Regions from separate parts of the Homo sapiens genome. Here regions 2, 3, 4 and 5 are each linked to region 1. The links are contacts of gene promoters, found by promoter capture Hi-C in blood cells and fetal thymus (Javierre and others, 2016). All regions are on one chromosome and are shown on one strand. Each heading gives the region's core, a stretch centred on a gene start or on the middle of the fragment in contact. The rest is flanking DNA. Distances are from core to core; before and after follow the strand shown.

Region 1 (4,544 bases), core at 1,102-3,601:
CTGGTTGCTTTTCAAAGGTTGTACAGATACTATAAATATATTTAACCAATACTCTATTGAGGAGGAGCCGGAGAGGGTTTCCAGTCTTTTGCTATTGTAAGCAATGCTTAAAAAAATACTCTGGAACATAGGTCATTGTAAGCAATGCTTCAAAAAATACTCTGGAACATAGGTCATTGTAAGCAATGCTTCAAAAAATACTCTGGAACATAGGTCATTATGTATATTTCTGTAAGATAAATTCCTAGAGGTAGGGTTACTGACTTCAAAGGATTTAGACTAAAGGTGCTTAAAGAGAGAGGTTTCACCTGTTAGTTAGTTTTTGTAGCCAAAACTTGAAAACATCCTTTCTTCCTCTTTTTTCGTACCTATCAATCACCAAGTCTTGCTGCTGTTACCTCCTCAATTTGTTTAAATCTGTCCTTCCTTCCCATTCCTCCCAGCCAACAACTCAATTTAGGCTTTTACTATTTCTTCATGTCTGAAATATCGTCCTCAAACCCATTGTCCTGAGAGAATAATCTGCTCGAACACATTCATGTTGCCTACTACATACATCCAGGATTAAGTCTAATGCCTTTGAATACACAAGGTTCACCTTGATCTAGTCCCTGTGCTTCCCTTTCTCTGGTAGACTTCTCCCATCACCAGCTTCACTCTCTTTGCTTTTACACTGTGGAATAATTCATCATTTCAGGCCTCCTTGCTTTTGCTCTGGCTGACTCTCCAGCTTGGAATGCCTTCATCCATTTCCCTTACTTCACCTTTGTGTTCCTGTGCATTCATCTTTCATAGTGATTGCTATTCTCTACTGAAATGAATTTTTTCAAAATAGCCTGCAATTGCAATAGGCAGTACTTTTTTTCTTTCTTTTTAGCTCTAGCATCTATCACAGTGCTTGTGGTCATGGGGTACATACTCAGTAAAATATCTTTTACTGAACTCAACTAGATCTTGGGGGAAAAGGGGTGGAGTCATTCATTCATTCATTCATTCATTCAACATATGTTTATTGAGAAGCTATAAACATAGGCACAAGGTTATGTGCTAGGTAGTGCGATTACAACCAAGAAGATAACCCAGGGCCTACTTTTGGTCTAGTGAAAGAGATGGAATTAGATGGGTATGGTGGTGTGCACCTGTAGTCCCAGCTACTTGGGAGGCTAAGGCATGAGAATCTCTTGAGGCTAGGAGGGAGAGGTTGCAGTGAGCTGTGATGGTAACACTGTACTCCAGCCTGGGTGACAGAAGAAGACCCTATCTAAAAAAAAAAAAAAAAAAAAAAAAAAAGTAGGGCAACATAAATACACAATTTTAATTTAGGTGGGTAAAGACAACAGTGGACCCCAGGGCACAGTTTAGATTATTTTATGGATATGGATAAACAGAGAAAAGGGTGGTTTTTTTTTTTTTTTTTAAATCTATTTTAGAGACTGGGTCTCACTGTGTTGCCCAGGCTGTTTTCAAACTTCTGAGCTCAAGTGATCCTCCCACATCAGCCTCTTGAGTAGATGGATGGCATTTTAATTAGATGAAATTGTACTAGGAAAGGCATTTGCAAAACAAAGTAATTGCCCCAAATCACTATGAAACCCTAAGTCAGGCATAAAACTCACGATTTCTGACCCTTCTTCATGGCCTATTGCCTCCTATTACCTTTACTTTTTCAAGTAAAGATATTCTTCTGGTAAACACATGGTCAAATACAGTGTCTTGGGTAACGAATAGTAAAGTGAGATAACATATGTAGAGAAAGCGGGTGAGAATCCGTACTCCATAAAAGTATTTTCTTTCCATAGGTGTCTGCTAAACTGCCATCTAAGTTTTCCAAAACAAAAAACAAAAACACTTGTGTGGTGCTCAATGATGTATATTAAGTGAAACCTACCAACTGACCTTTATCCTTTCCTTCCTGTTTTTTTAATATTAAAGAAGAGACCTCTTTTCACAAATGATTGAGGAGGCTAGTAAAATGCAGTGAAAAGAGCAAGTTCTTTGGGAGTCAGACAGCATCGGATCCAGCCCAGAGCGCAGCACGACTAGTAGAGTAACTTAGATTAAGTCCTTAAACTTCCAGTGTCCTCTTTTGTAAACTGGGAATAATAATAATAATAAATAAATAGTGAATAATATTTATGCAAAGTACTTAGCACAGTGTCTAACACATAAAAGCTTAGGAGAAGTTGGCTATTAAGCATTTCTAGGAACCCGAGGACTCAGGGTTGTTATTTTAGTTCTTGGAATCAAAGGAACTTGAAGCGTAGTCATTCCTAAACTAAGTTAAACCAGAACTAGCGCTTTCAGCAATGATGTAATTTGATCTCTTCGGGCCACCGTCGCTGAGCATGCGCAAATAAACGTGGCGGGACGTATGTGTCATGGCGCTCTCCATCTAAAGTCTGTGCAGCTTCCGGAGAGTGGCGGGTTGATTTTCTCACTTTGGACTGGTTTTTACTTCCCGACTTCTGGGTAAGGGTGGCCGATGGGTCCATGTGGGGCAGAGTGTGGCCACAGCTCCTTTTATGGCCAAGCCTTGTTTCTCCAGTTTCAGTTTTTCTTGGGCTGTTTGCAAATTTGTTTCGCAGTTAAAAGGGGATTTGCCAGCTGGGATGGGGGAATTGGGAGGCAGATGGGGCTTCCAGGAGCGAGGATAGGGTCGTTGGCCTCAGGTGCCGCTCTCCAGTTAGGAGTATTTTAGGCACCTCGTTCCTTATTGTCAGGTTTAACTTCATTTGTTCTCCCACTTTATACCTTAGTGAATTTGTAGATGTGACAAGGCTTTCGCAGTTATATAGCTTTCCCAGATCAGTATGTTAAGAATTTAAGCAGAAGTTATTGAGAAAAGCAGGTGTCTTGCTTTTTCACTTTTCGTTCTTCTTTGCTCATAAAACCTTTTTCTGAATCTCGGGACGACAGTTATCTTTCGGATGGAACGTGATCTGGATGTCTATCTACCTTATTGACTTAATCCTGTTTTGTAGTGGTTGGTTACTCGCACTATGCAGACGTGTTGCGGTGCTGAATACAACATTTATTACTAAAGCCAGACACTGGATCACCGTCACGGCAGATGTCAGCACACCTGTTGTAATCAGTAAGAAGTTACAAGTAGTATGGAGCATCATTAATCCTGCTGTATAAAGCAGTCTTTTATGGAGTCTGATTCCTTTTAAGTAAAGAATCCTTACAGTGGTTTTGTGAACTTTTTGGGTGCTTACTTTTCCTAATCAATTTTTATTTTCCAGACTCATCTTTCAAGAGGACTTTAGACTAATTGCAGATAATTAAGGTACTGATTTATTTTAAACCTTTTATGTTTGAGTGCTGTGCGTATTTCTGCATGTTAGAAAATGCAGAGAGGTAGCCTAATGTTTTAGCTATTTGCCACTATCATGTTATGGAAACATTGTGCTTTACATAGCATTAAATCGAAGAGATATTTTCATTTATTTTACTTAACCTTTCATTTTCATTCACCAGCATTGACCATGTCCACTTTTTTGAGATGCCCTTTTCATTTGCCTTCCATGGCCCATGGATTTTTTTCCTTGTCTGGTGGCTGCTTCTTGGAATCCATTATAAGCTGATTTTCCTTTATCTGGCAGTTAAATTTGGAGTCTCTCAAGTCGTGGTCTTGTACCTTCTCCTACCTCTGTTCTCTTTTTCTTCCCCTCTGGGTGATGTAATCCACATGCCTGTCAACAGTTATTTGTCTTTTTGATTCTACCCATCCTAATGGGTATGAAGTGGTGTATTATTGTGGTTTGGATTTCCATTTCCCTGATGGCTCATGATGTTGACATCTTTTCATGTGCTTATCAGCCATTTGTATGTGTGTGTTTTTGAGACACGGCTTCCCTATGCCACCCAGGCCAGAGTGCAGTGGCTCGATTACGGCTCACTGCAGCCTTGACCACCTGGTCTCAAGTGATCCCACTTCAGCCTCCCAAGTAGCTGGGACTACAGGTGCATGCCACCATGCCCGGCTAAATTTTACTTTTTTTTTTTTTTTTGTAGCGATAGGGTCCGTGTTGCCTAGGCTCTGGCCTTGTACTCCTGGCCTGAAGTGATCCTGCCACCTTGGCTTCCCAGTGTTGGGATTATAGGCATGAGCCTCTGCACCTGGCCCATTTCTGTATCTTCTTCATCTAATCTGTTTTTCCTTTTGTTGCTTGTGCTTTTCATTTCTTAGCTAAGAAAGAAGGGCCTACTCTAACATCATAAAGATTTGTGCTTATGTTTTTTTCTAAGAGTTTCATAATGTTAGCTCCTAAATTTAGGTCTATGATCCATTTTCGGTTAATTTTTGTATATGATGTGAAATGTGAAATAGGGCTCCAACTTTATTTTTTACATGTTGCTATCCAGTTATCCCAGTGTCATTTGTTGAAAAAAAAACTACGCTTTCCCCCTTGAATTGTCTAGGTTATGTATATTTGACATACATTCTAGGTGGTTTTTATGAAAGAATAATTCTGGGACAGTGATTATCAAACTTTAATTCAGATCAAAATCACCTAGAGGGCCTGTTAAATATTGCTAGG
Region 2 (4,544 bases), core at 1,001-3,500, 1.6 Mb after region 1:
TTGTTACTAATTCTACAAAGGCAGCTCTGTGTGTTGGATTATGTTTGGCCAGCTGTTGATGCATTCCTGCGGATGGGGCTGGGTGAGGATCTTATTACTGTACTTTCAAACTGTAGATCTGTGTGCAGGGATAGTACAGAAGGAAAGGAAAAGCAATAAGTTACAGAATCTGATCATTCTTACCTCTTTCTCCAGATAGTCCTAGAGTGAATCCAGAAAGGCTTTAAAGTGAAAAGAGGAAAGAGAGAGTAAGTGATTGGGGGTGGGTGGCATGAGGAGAAGAGAATGAAACAGAGCAAGCGCACAAGAGAAAAACAGCCTTAGAACTTCAAAGCTGCATAGACAAGCAGAATGTCACCAGCTTGTAATTAGCGGTTCATGGTTGCGTCAGTGACTGTATCTATCCAAGAATAACTATGTGATATGTGCCACAAAGTGAAGAAGATAGTCATAACTAAGTTATCAAACCCAGTTCAAACAAGGGCAAATGGATTAAGAAATTTTCTGTTTGTAAATCAAATACTGATGGATTACACAGATAAGACTTAACTGAATTCTGCGTAATTGAAGGCTGAATTATCAATTTGTCAGGGGGGATATGTTCATTAAATGAAACTGTGAACGCTTAAACATGCAAATTAATCATGCGAGAAAATATCAGTGCAAGCTCTATCAATACAAGATGTTTTACTAAATAGCCAAAAATGGCACTGCCAGTCTCCTATCTCTGTATCCACACATAAATTTTTTTGTTTGTTTTTGTGCATTTCAATAGAGAGAAGTCAAAAGTTACATTCGAGTAAATAGGGTAAATTAAATTCTAAAATTCCCACTTTAGAATTTAAAAAACAACTAAGGAGTTTTGATTTTTGGTGATCTCCCGAGTTTAAACCTTGAAGGAGCTTTTGCTGTCTTGAAGCCAAACAGCAGCTAGTCAGTAATCGTTATGGGAAGTCAGGGTACCACAGTTGTTGAGATTTCAAGGCCACGTTCACTTCCCTCCCTTGTCTCTTGTGCTTGGAGATTTGGGTGCTACTACAGCCTCCACAAAGAGACAGTGGGAGGAGCTGATTGGTCCGTAGGCTTAGAATGTTTACTCTTATTTGTTTTCAGTGCTCCTCCATGGCATTCATTTTCTGTTTGTATTTGTGTTCATGCTGCACAATTACTCCTGACCTGCTTTGTTTCTCTGCCCAAAGAGAAGTCAATTTTAGTTCAGCTCTGTGTGTTTAGCTTGCTGGGTAATATGTGCATATGTATTGCATTACCCATGTATGCATTTTTCTTTTTTTAAAATGTGGATTAGGGAAAATTGTAGCATGGAAAGCTGCATATATTAAATCAATAGCTTTTTGAATCACATGTAATATAATTTAAATATACTCACTTTGAGGTTGCCAAAACTGACATTGTCTGAGCCCGTTTAATTTACATCTTCGATTTAGTCAAGAAGCGGAACCTGCCAGATCAGAATAGTGTATTCTGTGCACCCAACAGGGTGGAAGACATTATTTTGTTTGTGTTAGTTCAAACAGCTGGTCATTAATGCAGTCCCCATTTCTAGAGCGAAGTGCTGCTGGACATGAATGCCCGCCTGATTAATGCTGCCCCTCCGAGGGTCCTTCACCCAGCAGTCATGCTCGCAGCAGAATAATGTAGCATGATGTGATTGCACTCTAACAGGATAGTATGTCATTGTGTCACCAAGCAATTGAGGTTATTATGGGGCAGGGCAGACAGACGGGACAGTGGGGTTACTAGACCGTAGCATTTTTAGAAATACAGGCCTGACCTACTTAGAGTTATTCTCTCTGGCTGGCAGCTGCATGGTACATAAAGTCTCCTGATAGGCTGAGTCTGTTGCTAGGGGGAATTAGCATGAATTTTTCCACACACAGACTCAGTGGCTGAATGATAAAAGCTGACTGGAATTAAAGAGATTTGGTTTAGTATTATACAGATTTATGTGCCTCCTTTTCTTTCTCAAGTGCAGAGAAAGAGTGCAAAACACAGATTTTGTTTCCATTTGTTCTTTGACCTTCTTGTTCTCTCCCCCTCCCCTCAAGATGCATGAGGGGAGGAGGGCAGGGCAGTTATGAAATTTTGGTTAATCTCTCACTGTTGGGGTCACTGAAACGATGTCGCAAATTGCAAGATATTTAAGCTTAAAAACTGTTGGGAATGACTAACAGAAGGTTAGATTATTTTTCCTCTTCTGTGCACTAAGCTGTTTTGAAGTTGGGCATGCATCTTTCATGCACTGTATATTTAAACTCTCTTTCCCTTTTGGGCTTGAACAAAACATTTATATAAATTCTTTTCTATCCAAACAGATTGAAGCTTGCAATCTCTGTCTTGTTTAAAACAAGGTGGTCAGGATTCCAGATTTAGATAGGAAAAAAATATATATACCATTTTTGTTATTACAAAATATTATTTTCTGGGGTATTGTGGGTTTGGCTCCCTTTTCAAAAACCAGCCTGATGTGGATGCTTATGGATGAAACTGAACTGCTCCTACCCTACCCTGTTGGCTTCACAATGTATAGGAAAACATAGGTTTTTCTCCAGAAGAAAATCTGCCTGCAGAATGTATCTGGAGGTTGTTTTCCTTGTTGCTGACATATGCACTGCATGTAGACAACTCACATAATCAACTGTATAAGATGACCCATTTTTTTCCTTCTCATGGATCTCCAAGTGTCTGTGGCTTTTAATAGATCTTTTCTAGAGGAGGAGTCTTGATAGATCTTTTTAAGGTAATCTGAAAAGCCATCAGGAGAAAAATTAAAGCAACACATATTTAAGAATACTTTAATTTTTCTTGTTCTTAATTATATGCTAACTGTGCTTAAACTGCAATTTCTTTCTGTTACCTTTTACTGCTGAAAGTAGTGATTATCCTTGCCTTTTAGATTTGAAATTAATTTTCGTGAGAACACCCTGGGATATCACAAGTAAAAAAGAAACTGGGCTACATAAAGGAAAAGAATAATAGAGATTCTTGTAAACTTGTCACATTAGTTTTTTTTGCCCACGTGAAAAAGGCAAGAGAAAATTTAGGTGTAGATTTTTCTTTTCATTTACATTTTAAAAAATATTTGGAACTATTTAGATACATAATGCTTTAAAACAGTGATTCCTACTTATAGCGGAGACTACAGTCAAAACAAAATAAAACAAATCCTCTAATGCTATCAGAGCCAAGAAATCTATCAATCATATATACATTTTTTAAATCCAGGAGTGTTTACATTTCAGCATATAAATCTTATCAAGCTAAAATAGAGTATATATTCTGATGTTGTAATTGATCGATCATACCCTCACTGGCTTTGAGAGTCCCCAAACATTTATTGTAAAGGTTTCCAACTACACTAGCAATCTTTTGTAATTGAATAAAATGCCAATTTATATTTGTTGAATAAAAGATTATCTGGGGTACTGCTCCTTCCGAAATGAAGCAATTTCTTTGTTGTTTTAATAAGTGAACATTTTTTGGTTTTCTTTTGCAGTATTTATTTTGCTTAGGTCAATGGACAATTATTTAAATATTTAAATGCAAATATATAGAAATAAAATGTCACTTTAAAATCACTTAAGAAAGGAAAAACGTCAACATACTTTTATTAACATTCTTTAATAAACATATGGCTAATTTGTATGTAAAGCACAGCCTGTTTCCAGGTACCCAGTCCAATCAAATGTTTATAGTTTGATTAAAAATAAATTGATCACATTATAATAGTTCAATATAAGTCTTATTTGGCTGTTTAGGTTGCTAAGAATTTCCCATTGTTTTTATCCATTACCAGGGAGGTAAGTATTCAATAAGTCAAAAACAAAAACAAAGCAAGCATATTTTAAAATGTCATTTATGCTGACTTGGCTAAGCTTAAGCTTATACTTAAGCTTGAATCCTAGATATTCACTTAGACAATGTATGTCATAGTATTCATTTCATCCTTTGCCATTCATTAAAACACCAAAGGAGCGATCATCCTCACTCATTGCATCAATCATTTATTTATTAGGTATTTATTTTCTGCTCACACAGGAGGCTAACTTCTCCAGTTATAAGGTTCAACATAGACCAATGAGGTTTTGGTGGGATTGGTGGGTAAACAAAAAAGGGAATATAAGCAGTTGATTGTGGTGGGCCACGAAGCGCAGGTGAATCTTGTGTTGAATAGTTTCCCTGACTGTATTCTGTCTGACACCTAATGTTACTTAGTCCTTACAACTTTGGGGAAGAACTGGTGCCCTTACTATCAGATGCTTGGAGATGATCAGCTCTCCTGATGTCACAGAGAAGCTACATCTCTTCCAAACTGTCTCAACACTTTTATAATATGAAAGATCTATCAGTAAGTCAGAATGTGCCTTTTGTGAAGTCATAAAAGCATAATGTAAACCAGTGATTTTTGACATCACTGTTAAAATGGGTAATAGTATCTCAACCATAATACCTGAAGCGCCCAAACTGTACACTGCCGGAGACCTTATCTGATTCCCTCAGCCTGATGCCTCCTGGGCTTCCTTTTT
Region 3 (4,544 bases), core at 1,212-3,711, 1.5 Mb after region 1:
AGTGGTCAAATAAATTATAGTAGAAATATGCAATAAAATACCAAGTGAGGCATTAAGCAGTGGTGTAGATTTCTCTAAGACCCTGTTTTTTTAAAAAACTAACAAATCAGTGTTTCATGCATTCAGTATGTGCAGATATATTATAAGCAGTTTGTGAGATTTATATAAATCTAAAAGTTGTTACAGCTGTGTGATTAGAGAATAATTAAATGGCTTTATTTTGCCTGTTGTTATAATTTTCTAATATTCAAGTGTATTACCTGCACATTAAATACAGAAAATGGCAAACATGGAAATAGCATATTGGGAGTATACTTGTAAGTTACCTAGAGATATTTGTGAAGACGAGGAAGGGAAAGAGGTTTCTTTCTTTTCTTTTCTTCTTTTTTTTCCTAGATGATGTCTTAGCAGAAAGTGTTAAAGACTAGTGATTGATTAATTAGTTCAACAAATATTTGTGTGCCTCTATGTGCCAGGTACTGGACAAGACTCTGGTCACATTGCTATGTACTTTTCACAGGAAAAATTGCTGAATCTGTTCTGTTTGATATTCTGCATCAATGTAGCTTTACCAGTAGAGAGTCAATAATATGAATATGAAAGTAATATGGGCATGTAAAATTATGATGTCACGGCCCAGCATGGTGGCTCATGCCTGTAATCTCAGCACTGTGGGAGGCCGAGGCAGGTGGATCACCTGAGGTTAGGAGTTCGAGACCAGCCTGACCAACATGGTGAAACGCTGTCTCTACTAAAAATATAAAAATTAGGTGGGTATGGTGGTGGGCGCCTGTAATCCTAGCTACTTGGGAGGCGGAGGCAGGAGAACTGCTTGAACCCGGGAGGCAGAGGTTTCAGTGAGCCAATATTGTGCCGTTGCACTCTAGCCTGGGTAACAAGAGTGAAACTCCATCTCAAAAAAAAAAAAAATTATGATGTCAGACTGACGTTTTGCTTCGTATTTTTACATATGCGTTTTATCTGCTTTATGCTGTTTCACATATTAAATGTGTGAAACTTTTTCTGTACTGTAGATAGTTGACACCATGAATTGTCTGGAAAGTCAAAAGCAAAAATTGAGAAGACTTGTTATAATTAATGAAAACTTTAAAGGACATTAAAAAGCTTATTTGCAAGTGCTTTGAAAAATCTGACTTTTCCATATTTTGTGAGGTTTTGGCTTTGATACTCAATCTTGGTTTAATGTTCTGCAGGTGTCCTTTGGGGAGTTAGAACAGGGTTTGCAGGGATGGGGAGATTGAGTGTGATGACTCTAGTGTCCACTCACTTGGAATGTTGAGACTCTGAGGCCTTAAATAGGAGGTTTAGATTTGGGATGTCTGACTGAAAGAGGGTTAGGATTCAGGCTGATGTGGAGATGCTCATTGAGGAGTTCAAATTCTTCTCTGAGCCCTTAAGAATCTACCCAAAGGACAGTCTTCTGATGTTCAGTCTCTTTCTCATGAAAATGATCTTAGAAGTTTAATCCTTCAAATGACCTCTTAACATGACTTCTCATACTGGTGTGAGATTAGAAAAAAAAAATTCCAGCCTGAACCATCAAGGGCTCCAAAATGAAGATTTTTTTTGAGTTTTAAAACTCTGAAAAAGTTTTTCATAAGTTATAAAAACAGAAAGGTTCTTGAGAGGAAGGGTTTGTTTTGGGTCAGTGCCAATGTGCCACAGTTGCTTTCCTTGTGTGTGTTTGTGTGTTTGTCTTTGTCTTCTGTCTGCCTGTCTGCGGGGATGATTATGGATTCTTGAACTTGGTTCTTTCTTTCCTATTGATTGGTGAAGGGAAGAAGTTAAACTTTGGATTTGGCTCTATTTCCATTGTCCATTGAATCGGGAGAGTTAGCCCATTGGTTATTCTATTGCTCTTTTGCTATGATTTTGTGGGAAAATTGTCATTTTCACTTCCCCCTTCTTCTCTCCATCCTTTCCTCTCGTTAAAACAGACATGATGCCTTTAACGAATTGCCTTGGGATAGTTTGAAGTATAAAGGGAGGAAAAAGAGATTTAGCTCTTCCTGAGACAAGCCCTGAGTAGTAAAATCAATAATTCAAGAAATCACTTGCCCTTTAAAAAACAAACAAAAAAAGACTTGTAAATAGAACAAGATTGAGAAAAACATGTCTTTAGGCAGGCTAATCTAATCACACACAGAAGGCAGCCTGTTTTCTTACTTGCTGGATCGCTTCCACTTTATATTCTCACAGGGAACAATATATTAAGTACAGTATTTAGAAATATTTGTTGAATCCTACTGTCTGATTTTGGCAAGTCCCAAGGAAAAAAAGAATATGTCTTGGACTGCTTGAGCCTTCCTGGGAGGATATTGGAGTTTTCCCAGAGAGGCTGGCTTCACACTGTGGGAAACACTGGTTTGGTAGATAACACTGTTAGAATTTATATTTCAGAGGGCATTTAGTTGTCTTCAGAGTTTTAGAGCAGCCACAGCTGATCTTCTATGTCTCAGGATCTGAAGAAACTCAAAGTATAAGCTAGGCTTTCTTTATACTGATGTAGTCATTCTCTTTTGAGGGGCACCCTAACTTGTAACTCACTGATCCTGTGTTATGGCAGCAGGCTGAGTTCACCAGCACCAAAATATCCAGTTAGTGTATCAGAAGAGAAAATGTGGGTGTCACAAATAAGAGTAGCTAAAAGATAGGACATTATAGGGTGAAAGGTCCATTGGCTGATGCCGCCTTCTCTCAGGGAATGTTAAAGTGTCAACATTTTGGCAAAATCCTAAGCTAATTTTGTTTAAATGTGATCATCACATAGCATTGACTGAGTAATTGAAATTTGTGATGGGAAATAAGGATGAAATATTTAGAAAGTATGTTATGGCCCCTTTGCTTAAGAGTATATGCTAAAATAAAAGTATCTCATTACGAGGAATGTAAGTGAAATAAATTCTTTCAGTTTAATTTTCTCAGCATGTATCTGGCATTAAGTAGTTTTTATAAATCTTATGCAAGGGCCTATCCCACAGCTCTATTCCATTGGTGGCTTAAATGTGAAGTAGGCATATCTGAAGGGTTCTTTTGCTCTGTATTATAATGTTGAGAAGTTAGTTATTGAACCTATAGCTTTTCATCTCTAGAATGGAGATAAGAGAATCATCCTCAGAGTTTAAAAAAAAAACTTTTAATTTTTAAGTAGTTTTAGATTTACAGAAATGTAGCAAAAAAAGGAAGAGTGTAGTCTTACATCCCTTGCCTGGTTCCTTTTCTTGTTACCTTATTATGTATGCTTGTCAAAAAAAATTCAACATTGGGACTTGCCTATTAAATGACTCCACAGTTTGGGTTTTTTTTTTTTTATCTTTATATTTCACTGGTTCTTCCCTAATATCCTTTTCTGTTCCAGGGTCATACTGGATACGACATTGCATTTAGTAGTCATGTCTCTTTAGATTCCTCTGAACTATGAGGGTTTTTCAGCCTTTCCTTGTTTTAATGAGCTTAACAGTTTTGAGGCGTGCTGGTCAGATATTTTGTAGAATGTCCTTCAACTGAAATTCATCTCATGATTGGACTTGGTTATGGGTTTTTTCAGAGGAAGACCACAGAGGTGAAGCACCATTCTCCACCATCATATCAAGAGTACCTATGATCACCATGACGTATCACTATAGATGTTGATCTTGATAACCTGGCTGAGGTCATGGTGCCAAGTCTCTTCACTGCAAATTTGCCTTCCCCCGACTTTTTCCCATACTGCACTCTTTGGAATGAAATTACTAAGCACATGTCATAGGGTTATTTTAAGGTTTAAGTGAGATGATGAAGCTTGTGGTATAAAACCCAGTGCTTTAGAAAACACTCATGAATGTCAGTTGCTACTGTAGTTGCTGCCTTTACACTAGTCCCTTTCAATACATGAAAGCTAGTATTCTTTAGAGCTGCTTTCTCATAATTATACAGTTCTCAGCCATTTGCTGATATTGATCAGAAAGTAAAAATAACAAAAAAGAGTGCTCACACACCTTTCAAACGAGATGCCTGTATACAAAGTCACTCTAGGATGGAAGGATACGAATTCTCTCAAAGTTTACCATGGAGAGACTCTACTAAACTGGGATTATCAGCCTCTGGTCCTGTTTCATGTGATGGAGTCAGTCATTGATGACAGAGCTGGTGGGTTCTGGTTGGTCTTGGGCATGAGAGGGAGAAAGAAAGTTTAATTTAGGAGCTGAGCCTGAAAAATTGGTGAGGTTTTTTTTTTTCTTCCTCTGGTGATAGCTTTTGGGTAGAATTTTGAGTTCTTACTGGAATAAACGATCTTCAGCACTTCTCTGTGAAATGAAGGGCTTGTTCTGGGACCTGAAATGCTTCAAACCCTGTGCAGTTGTTGCCAGAGTGGCTGTCTGAGCCTGGATAATAGAGCCTGGAGTCCTATGTAACCATGTCTGTTGGAATAAATAAGAACAGCTGGTCGCTTGTACAGATACTGTTGGCATGAATTTTTTATTTAAGTCTCTCCATGTATCTAGTAAACAGTAAGCAGTATTCTAACATTACTAAAAGCCTCC
Region 4 (4,544 bases), core at 1,168-3,667, 1.5 Mb after region 1:
CTACTGAACATCCTTCTCAATTCCCCCCGACCCATGGATGGCTGTTCTCCATTGTCTGTTTCACCAGATGTCCTCAAAACAAACAGACAGAAGAAGGAAGTGGCTAATGGTAAGAATTTTTTGTCCCTCTTAGAAAAATTTTAATGCATTTACTTTAAAGTGCTGGAGATGTGAGGTTTTTCTTGTAAGTAGGTAATATGAGTATAGTTCAAACATTTTGTTTTTAGGATATCAAAATTGTAGGAACCTTCATTGGGTCCTTTCATAGTGATGAATCAGAAAAAAGATGAAAGAGTACAGTACAGATAACTTTTTCAAACGTTCAAACATTTATGACATTCTTCTGGTTTCAGATCCCAATGCTCTCTACGTGTCACTCCTGGCATGACCCACCCACACACAAAACTCAATAGAGCCAGAGACAAACTCATTCTGTCTGTTTTAACACTTTTTCCTTTGAGTTTTGTGCTTCAAAGATCGTTGTTCTCATTTCTCTGCTGTCCCCTGCTCCCCAGTCACTCATTCCCTATTCAAGCAGTTTGCCATGCCTTCCAAATATTTCTCTAATTCACCCCCATTTCCCCATTCTCCTATTTGGCCCTGACCATCTCCGGCCCTGGCTGGTTCAGTCACCTTCTTACTGGGCTATCTAGTCTATCATGGACAGTCCCTACTGCTCCCACCCTTCTCAGGTGGATCTCCTTATGTTACTTTTGTTATTGACTGAAGAGTGTATTTCAAGATTTTCAGCATTTCATGCCCCATCTTTCTCTTTGCCATAATCTTCCCACACCTGTATTCCCTGATGTCTTTGATTTGGTGGTCTAGTTCTGGTCCAGTTTCTGAATCAGTGCTGATTGAGACATAGTACATGTAAACGTTTTCCATTCTCCCCTCATCTCTTCCCCTATCCAATGGGCACTTAAAATTAAAATGACTATCCTACCAGAAATTTGGTGGCCCAGTAATGACCTCTGGGTTGCTGTGTCTTTCCTGTTGTTCCCACTACTATTCAGACCCACTTTCCTTCCCCAACATGTTGTCATTTGGTGGCTTCTATTTATAGTTCTTCCAGCCACCTTGTATTAACCTAGTCTAGGATTATACCTGGGTTTCTGTTCCTAAATTTTGACTAGTTACTAAGGTTAATAATCTTGTCTTCCTCTAACGTGGCAGCTTAGACTTCAATTTATTCTTGAGAGTTGGAGTGCCTTCCATCTGAATTCTTCTTCTTTTTTTTTTTTTTTTAAGATGGGGTCTTGTTCTGTTGCCCAGGCTGGAGCACAGTGGTAAAATCATAGCTCACTGCAGGCTGGAACTCCTGGGCTCCAACAGTCCTCCTCCTTCAGCCTCCTAAGTAGCTGGGACTATAGGCGTGTACCACCATACCTGGCTAATTTTTATTTTTTGTTGAGATGAGGTCTCGCTTTGCTGCCCAAGGTGGTCTCAAACTCCTGGCCTCAAGCTACCCTCCCACCTTGGCCTCCCAAAGTGCTGGGATTATAGGCGTGAGTCACTGCCCTTGGTCTGAATGATTCTTATCAAGACTGGTGATGGTGGCATCTAAGAACAGCTGGGGGTGACTCTTTGTTCACTGTGTGTATTAATTTCCTCTGGCTGCTGTAGCAAATTACCACAAACTTGGCACCTTAAAACAACAGACATTTAGGTTTTGACAGGGCTGAGCTCCTGCCAGAGGCTCTGGGGGAGAATCTGTTCCTTCTCTCTTCCAGCTTCTGGAAACTGCTGACATCCCTTGGCTTGTGGCCTCATCACTCCAATATCTGCCCCCTCCACGGCCACATTGCCTTCCTGTCTTCCATCTGTAGTCAAATCTGCCTCTGCTTCCCTCTTAGAAGCATACATGTAATGACATTTAAGGCCCAACTAGATAATTCAAAATAATCCCCCCATCTCAAGATCTTTAATTTCATCACATCTGCAAAGTCTTTGCATAGAAGGTAACATTTACAGGTCCCAGAGATTAGGACCTGATATATTGGTGGCCATTATTCTGTGTACTACACTGTCCATCTAGGTTGGGCCTGCTACTTCTCCTGGAAGTCCCACTCTTGACCATTTCTGAGTCATGGTTCAGTGCACTATGCCTTCCTGCTTCTCTGCCTCTTTGTCTTCCTCACCTCTACCTACAGAACTGGCCTTAGCAATGCTGTCGGTTTCCCCAAGGTCTGTCTCAGGCCCAGGGGCCAGGGCTACCTCCTGTTCCTGCTGCTTCTCTTCCTGTACACTTGCCTCCTTCTCTTTTATTGAGTTGTAGAAAATACCAAGTCTCTTTTCAAAAATCTCGTCCTGTGATGCCTCCTTCCTCACAAAGACCTTGCAATCCAGGCCCTTCCGGGCTGTCTGCGTTGTGTGACACTTAACTCGGACATATGTAGACATGCCTTGAGATGTGGGCTGCCATTTATTTATCTAAAATGCCCCTTCCCCTTGCTCTATATTGGGTGAAATATTGTACATTTTGCAAGGTCTTGTTTAAGTGTCAAATTCTCTGAGACTTTCCTAAGCCCCTCCCCCTCCTCTTTTCCATACAGAATCAATTACATCTTCCCTCTGTTCTTCCTTAGCACTCTGTTTATACTTGACTCAAACCCTTCCCACATTGTGTTATACTTTATTTTGTCTCTGTCTCTCCTTGCTGGACTTTGAGGTTCATGAGAACCAGGAAAAGGATATTATTCATCTTTTTTAATTTTAACCTGACATGGAACTCACAATACATCCTTGATATAATAATAATATGTGTTTAATTAATTGATTAATTTGAATTTTAAACTTTTCATAATTCAGAATATCTTAGAATAGATGAACATTTAATACTTTTCTCCCAATTTCCTTATGGACCCAAGAGTAATTATTTTCCTTAGATGGCTATGTACAGTCAAGCATGGCTTTTGTTTCCAGTATAAATTAATTTAAAATACTGTAATTTATGCATTCTCTTCTTTACATTTTGTTCAGTGTGGGGGTTATTACCCTTACCCCTCTAGAGAGCCAATTTACTTATTTTATTTTATTTTTGAGACAGAGGCTTGCTCTGTCATCCAGGCTGGAGTGCAGTGGCTTGATCACAGCTCACTGCAGACTTGACCTCCTGCACTCAAGCAATCCTCCCACCTCAGCCTCCCGAGTAGCTGGCACCACAGGTGTGTGCCACCATGCTTGGCTAATTTTTAAAATTGTTATTGTTTGTAGAGATAGGGGTATCCTTGTGTTGCCCAGGCTGGTCTCAAACTGGGCTCAAGTGGTCCTCCCATCTCAGCTTCCCAAAGTGCTAGGATTACAGGCGTGAGCCACTCTACTTGGCCCAATTTACTTTAATATGAGATTTTTCTAAACCTTAAAGGCTACCAGTGTAATGTTGTCACTTGATTGTCTTCTTGTAGATCCAGACTTTTAAGCAGGAATTAGGAATGTTATCTGTGAAGATTGCTTCTTTTCACTTACTGGTGCTCTACTGAAACAATACTATTTTCCTCCCTTTTCCTGGGTGTTTTGTCTGAGTACATGTGAATGTCAGAGTTATTTTCCCTGCCTTGTCACTGGAATCTGCAGCCAGCCTCCCTGATTGTGAATGCATCCATGCTGTACAGCTGGCGTCTGTTTCCTATTTCTATAGCCGTGAGTCTCTCAGGGCTTTTGTAGAGAGTACGGGTGTTTTATTACATTGCATGTCTTATATGTATGAGAAACTTAAAGGGCTTTGAGGATTTTCTTTTTCGGTATCTAATCTTCTAACAGCTCTCTGAGGTAGGTAGCAGGAAGTGTTATCTCCATTTTGCAGACGTTATAACAGAGGCATAGCACAACTTGATGTAGGCCCCACAGCAAATCAAGGGCTGAGTGGAAAAGGTCTCCCTAGTCTTTCAACCTCCACTTCAATGCACTAGTTGCCAGACAAGTTAATTTTAATTTTTAAAACCTCCATCCATTTTGGTTTTGCATGAAATGTTATTGTCAGCATTCAGGTGGTAGCAGTGCTCCAGTTCTAGTACTACCTTTCCCATCTTCTGCATCCTTCTAGAATCCCTTCTTGCTTGTCACGGTCACACACACTCATAAGTGTGTCTCTCTTTTTATGTGTGTATGTATATATGTAAATAAAGAAAATAAAAATATATACTCTTTCTTTAAAAAGAGTTTCTGTACAACATTAGGTTCTGCAGAGGGGTTGTTTGGTCTGGGGACTATATGCAAATATGAGATTTCTGTATTAGCAGCATATCTGATACTTTCCAACTAGTTTTTTTTTTTTCTTGTCAATCAAACATACTATGTAGATATTAGCTGTAGGCAAGGAAAGATTTAAAAATATAACCGACATGGGCAATATAGTGAGACTCTGTCTCTACAAAAAAAATTAAAAAAATTAGCAGGGTGTGGTGGCACATGCCTGTGGTCTCAGCTACTTGGGAGGCTGATGTGGGAGGATTGCTTAAGCCTGGGAGTTGGAGGCTGCAGTGAGCTGTGATCTCACCACTGCACTCCAGCCTGGGCAACAGAACAAGACCCTGTCTCAAAAT
Region 5 (4,544 bases), core at 854-3,353, 1.4 Mb after region 1:
AGTGAAGTGTTTTTATGCCATTTCACCCAGAACCAGAAGTCTGACCTAATCCATATTGATTTTGTACATAGGAGGTGGCCGCTGTTCCTTTCCACGTTAAAGCAGTCGTGCATGTAAATTCTGGGGACTATAGTCACTTCTACATTGTACATGAGTCCTGTGAGGCTTTAGGTAGTCTGAATTATCATGTAATATAATTAGGTTATATGTATATGGAATTATGATGGGAATCTAGGTAAGGAGACAAAAAATTAAGACGGCATATGAGGCCAGGTAAGGTGGCTGATGCCTGTAATCCCAGCACTTTGGGAGACCAAAGCAGGAGGGTTGTTTGAGTCCAGGAGTTTGAGACCAGCCTGGGCAACATAGTGAGATACTGTGTCTACAAAAAAATACAAAACTTAGCCTGGCGTGGTGGTGCACACCTGTAGTCCCAGTCCCAGCTACTCTGGAGGCCAAGATGGGAAGATGCAGTGGGTCATGATTACACCACTGTATTGCAGCCTTGGTGAAAGAGGGAGACCTTGTCTTAAAAAAAAAGAAAAGAAAAAGAAGGCATACAATATGTATGTATAGATTTGCGTGCACACACATAATGATACTTTTGATAAGCTTAATTAATAACAGGCTAAGCCTCCAGTGATTATATTATTGTCCTCAAGGAGCATCCCTCTACTTAATATGTCATTACTATTCTAAAGGATAAACATATCTAATTCAAGAGAATATTAATCTTTGTCAAATGTTTGATATAAAAACATTAATTTTCCTGTATCATCATTCTCCATATTTTTGGCAATTAAGAGAGAAAGCTCATAATGATGGTCAAAAAATAGCTTTAAAAAGTTGGTGGTAGAGTTAGAAGACTATGTTTTGTACACTAGGATTTAGCCTTTTTCCAAAAGAGACCAGAAGAAGAGATTCTGCCATTTCCTGACTGAGTCATGGGTCACTCGAAGAAACTGAACCTATTTATCTATTAATATTTCAAGCAGGGTAGGAGTCAATACAGGGAATTAGGTTGTAACTGTTAAAAGGACTAGAGCAGCAAATGAATGGTGGAGGTGTCGGTGTTTCCTAGACCAGTAACTGCAGGAAACTATTACTTCTAATGCCAGAGTATGTCTTCGTCGCCCCACCACGGCCTACTCAGTCACTACAGGAGACCAGCGCCTAGAGCTTGTGTTACAAGACTCTGTACAAATCTGCTGCTGCTATTGCTGCCAGAGTCAAAGACAAATGGATTCTGCCATCTTCCAGTTTTGTATAAGTGCCTTTGAAAGAACCTAAACCTAGAACCTTGCTGGCCAAGGAATCTGAGAAATATAGTTTCCAGACTTAGAACCCCTGTGATCGTGTTAGATCTTAGAGAAAAATAAGGATGGCTCTAATTAACATAAGTATTCATTGACATCTTTGTATTTGGTTTACATAATATTGTGTGCTGTCTGATAGTGAAGACTCTAAGCTGCTTGAAGGTAGGAATAGGTCTCATATACTTTTATAATCCCACAAAGCGTAGCACAGTGCCTTATGCTTGTGCAGTTTTCTTCTACATAATTATTTCATATAACTGTAACCCAAACACTAAGCATGCCTTCAAATGAAAGATCAATCTTCTTTATCACTGGTCAGTTCCAGAGCCATCAATTAAAGAATCTGAGGCCTTCTTCTCATTAGTCCCTGAGGCAAAAGTCAAGGAAACTTAAGACTGTATTCCGTAGGATTCCTGAGCTAGGTCATCAGTATATTACATTTTTCTACTTAAAGAATAGTATTAGATTTCTTACAAGATGAGGGCTTTGGAGGCATAAGTATATGCAGGTACGTCAATTAATAGTTGCCCAAGTGAGGCCGGGAACGGTGGCTCACGCCTGTAATCCCAGCACTTTGGGAGGCCGAGGCGGGCGGATCACGAGGTCAGGAGTTCGAGACCAGCCTGGCCAATATGATGACACCCCATCTCTACTAAAAATACAAAAATTAGCCGGGCGTGATGGCACACGCCTGTAGTGCCAGCTACTCTGGAGGCTGAGGCAGAAGAATCTCTTGAACCCAGGAGGCAGAGGTTGCAGTGAGCTGAGATCATGCCACTGCACTCCAGCCTGGGTGATAGAGTGAGACTCCGTCTCAAAACAGAAAAAGTAAAAAAAAAGTTGCCCAAGTGATTTCACACTTACTGTTTAGAGAACTGTTTTGTGGTGGTGTGGTGCATTCTGTGCTTGGTGAAACAGAGGAGAAATTTCTGACTCACCCTCCCAGATGTAGTGGAAAAAAAAAAGATCAAAACATTCTGTAATATTAAGTAATAATAATAACTTCTTATTTTTTCTAGTCTAACAAATGATGAAATTTTTTTTTGAGATGGAGTTTCACTCTTGTTGCCCAGGCTGGAGTTCAATGGTGCGAGCTCAGCTCACTGCAACCTCCGCCTCCTGGGTTCAAGGAATTCTCCTGTCTCAGCCTCCCGAGTAGCTGGGATTAGAGGCATGCACCACCACCCCCGGCTAATTTTGTATTTTTAGTAGAGATGGGGTTTCTCCATGTTGGTCAGGCTGGTCTTGAACTCCCGACCTCAGGTGATCGCCCGCCTTGGCTTCCCAAAGTGCTGGGATTATAGGTGTGAGCCACCATGTCCAGCCATGAAGACAATTTTTTAAGAGAAGCAAAAAAAAAAAAAAAAAAAAAGTTACATAAAACCCAGTTACTTGAATACTGTACTGAATGATTTTGGCATATTTCCAACTGGCTCACTTTCAGTCATTCCTTGTCTTTTTTTTGTGTGTGGGGGGATGGAGTTTTGCTGTGTTGCCCAGGCTGGAGTGCAATGGCGCGATCTCAGCTCACTGCAACCTCCACCTTCCAGGTTCAAGTTATTCTCCTGCCTCAGCCTCCCAAGTAGCCAGGATTACCGGCGCCCACCACTACGCCTGGCTAGTTTTTGTATTTTTACTAGAGACGAGGTTTTACTTATTGGCCAGGCTGGTCTGGAACTCAAGTTATCCACTGCCTCAGCCTACCAAAGTGCTGGGATTACAGGCGTGAGCCACCGTGCCCCCACCTGTTCTTTGTCTTTTGTGAGTGTTTTTGCATAGATCATTGGGTCATGAGTATACTTCTTTCTCTTTTTCTTTTTTTTTTTGAGATGGAGTTTTTGCTCTGTTCCCCAGTCTGCAGTGCAATGGCGTGATTTTGGCTCACTGCAACCTCCGCCTCCCAGGTTGTAGCAATTTCCTGCCTCAGCCTCCTGAGTAGCTGTGATTACAGGCACCTGCCACCATGCTGGACTAATTTTTCTATTTTTAGTAGAGATGGAGTTTCACCATGTTGGCCTGGCTGGTCTCGAACTCCTGATGACCTCAGGTGATCCACCCGCCTGGGCCTCCCAAAGTTCTAGGATTACAGATGTTAGCCACTGTACCTGGCCATGAGTATACTTTTTATTGCTAGGTAATATTTTGTAATATTTTACTAATTAGGTCCGCCATAGTTTACATTTCCTTATCGTTGAACACTCCTCATTTGCCATTACAAATAATGCTGCCTGACATATTGTGCCTAAAATTTTTCAGGCTTTTGATCATTTCCTTAAGCTGAAGCTTTAGGACCAGACCTTTTTGGGTTAAGTAAATTAAGGATTTATTTTTCTTTATATTTCAAATAATTTTTTAAAATTAAAGTATAACACACATGTGGAAAGTACACAAATCATACGTATAAAGCTCAGCTCAATGAATATTTATAAATTCTTTCACATAGGCAGCATTTGATTAATTGCCAGCACCTCGGAAACTATTGTCATGCCTTCTCTTGGATTAGTTTTGCCAAATTTATAACTTTATATAAATGAAATATTACTGCATATATGTTTTTGAGTTGGGCGGTTTATTTTCCCCTCAACATCATGTTTGAAAGGTTCAAAGATGTTACTATCACTATTTTGTTATATGAATATACTTTATCCACCCTACCATTTTTGTTTGTTTGTTTGTTTTGAGACTGAGTTTTGCTCGTATAGCCCAGGCTGGAGTGCAATAGCACAATCTCGGCTCACTGCAACCTCCGCCTCCTGGTTTCAAGCGATTCTTCTGCCTCAGCCTCCTGAGTAGCTGAGATTACAGGCACCCGCCACCACCCCTGGCTAATGATTGTATTTTTAGTAGAAACGGGGTTTCACCATGTTGGCCAGTCTGGTCTCGAACTCCTGACCTCAGGCGATCCACCTGCTTTGGCCTCCCAAAGTGCTGGGATTACAGGCATGAGCCACCACACCCTGCCCATGCATTCGGTTTTAATAGGAATCACCAAACAGATCGTGAAACTAGTTGTACGTTTTTATACTACTACTAAAATTGCATGAAATTGGGTCTCTCTCTGTGACCCAGGCTGAAGTGCAGGGGCGTGATCATATCTCACTGCAGCCTCAACCTCAAGTGATCCTCTCTCCTTAGCCTTCAGAGTAGCTAGGACTACTGGCACACACCACCATGCCTGGCTAATTTTTAAATTTTTTGTAGAAAGATGGGGTCTTGCTATGTTGCCTA

The links. The method cuts DNA at HindIII sites, captures the fragments that hold promoters and counts their contacts. A CHiCAGO score of 5 or more calls a contact.
Region 2: a fragment that was not itself captured here is called in contact with the fragment with the promoter of CDKAL1 in region 1 in 1 of 17 cell types (fetal thymus); the score reaches 7.7 in fetal thymus.
Region 3: a fragment that was not itself captured here is called in contact with the fragment with the promoter of CDKAL1 in region 1 in 1 of 17 cell types (fetal thymus); the score reaches 5.7 in fetal thymus.
Region 4: a fragment that was not itself captured here is called in contact with the fragment with the promoter of CDKAL1 in region 1 in 1 of 17 cell types (fetal thymus); the score reaches 6.1 in fetal thymus.
Region 5: a fragment that was not itself captured here is called in contact with the fragment with the promoter of CDKAL1 in region 1 in 1 of 17 cell types (fetal thymus); the score reaches 5.3 in fetal thymus.

What each region holds. Positions count from the first base shown.
Region 1 is chr6:20,532,106-20,536,649 of GRCh38, forward strand. It overlaps CDKAL1 (CDKAL1 threonylcarbamoyladenosine tRNA methylthiotransferase), which reads left to right and starts at 2,352. Exons shown (of 16, transcript NM_017774.3): 1 at 2,352-2,469; 2 at 3,246-3,289. RefSeq lists enhancers at 2,281-2,440, 2,471-2,550. The HindIII fragment of the contact is 2,844 bases long and covers 2,171-4,544 here.
Region 2 is chr6:22,148,209-22,152,752 of GRCh38, forward strand. All of the region lies in intron 9 of CASC15 (cancer susceptibility 15), which reads left to right. Among named protein-coding and RNA genes, the nearest start is that of NBAT1, 3.3 kb to the left of the region's middle. RefSeq lists an enhancer at 137-2,950. The HindIII fragment of the contact is 176 bases long and covers 2,163-2,338 here.
Region 3 is chr6:22,065,030-22,069,573 of GRCh38, forward strand. The region is part of intron 8 of CASC15 (cancer susceptibility 15); the gene reads left to right. Among named protein-coding and RNA genes, the nearest start is that of NBAT1, 80 kb to the right of the region's middle. The HindIII fragment of the contact is 2,676 bases long and covers 1,124-3,799 here.
Region 4 is chr6:22,020,434-22,024,977 of GRCh38, forward strand. CASC15 (cancer susceptibility 15) reads left to right here. Exons shown (of 12, transcript NR_015410.2): 7 at 1-109. Among named protein-coding and RNA genes, the nearest start is that of NBAT1, 120 kb to the right of the region's middle. The HindIII fragment of the contact is 7,165 bases long and covers 1-4,544 here.
Region 5 is chr6:21,936,526-21,941,069 of GRCh38, forward strand. All of the region lies in intron 5 of CASC15 (cancer susceptibility 15), which reads left to right. Among named protein-coding and RNA genes, the nearest start is that of NBAT1, 210 kb to the right of the region's middle. The HindIII fragment of the contact is 2,987 bases long and covers 611-3,597 here.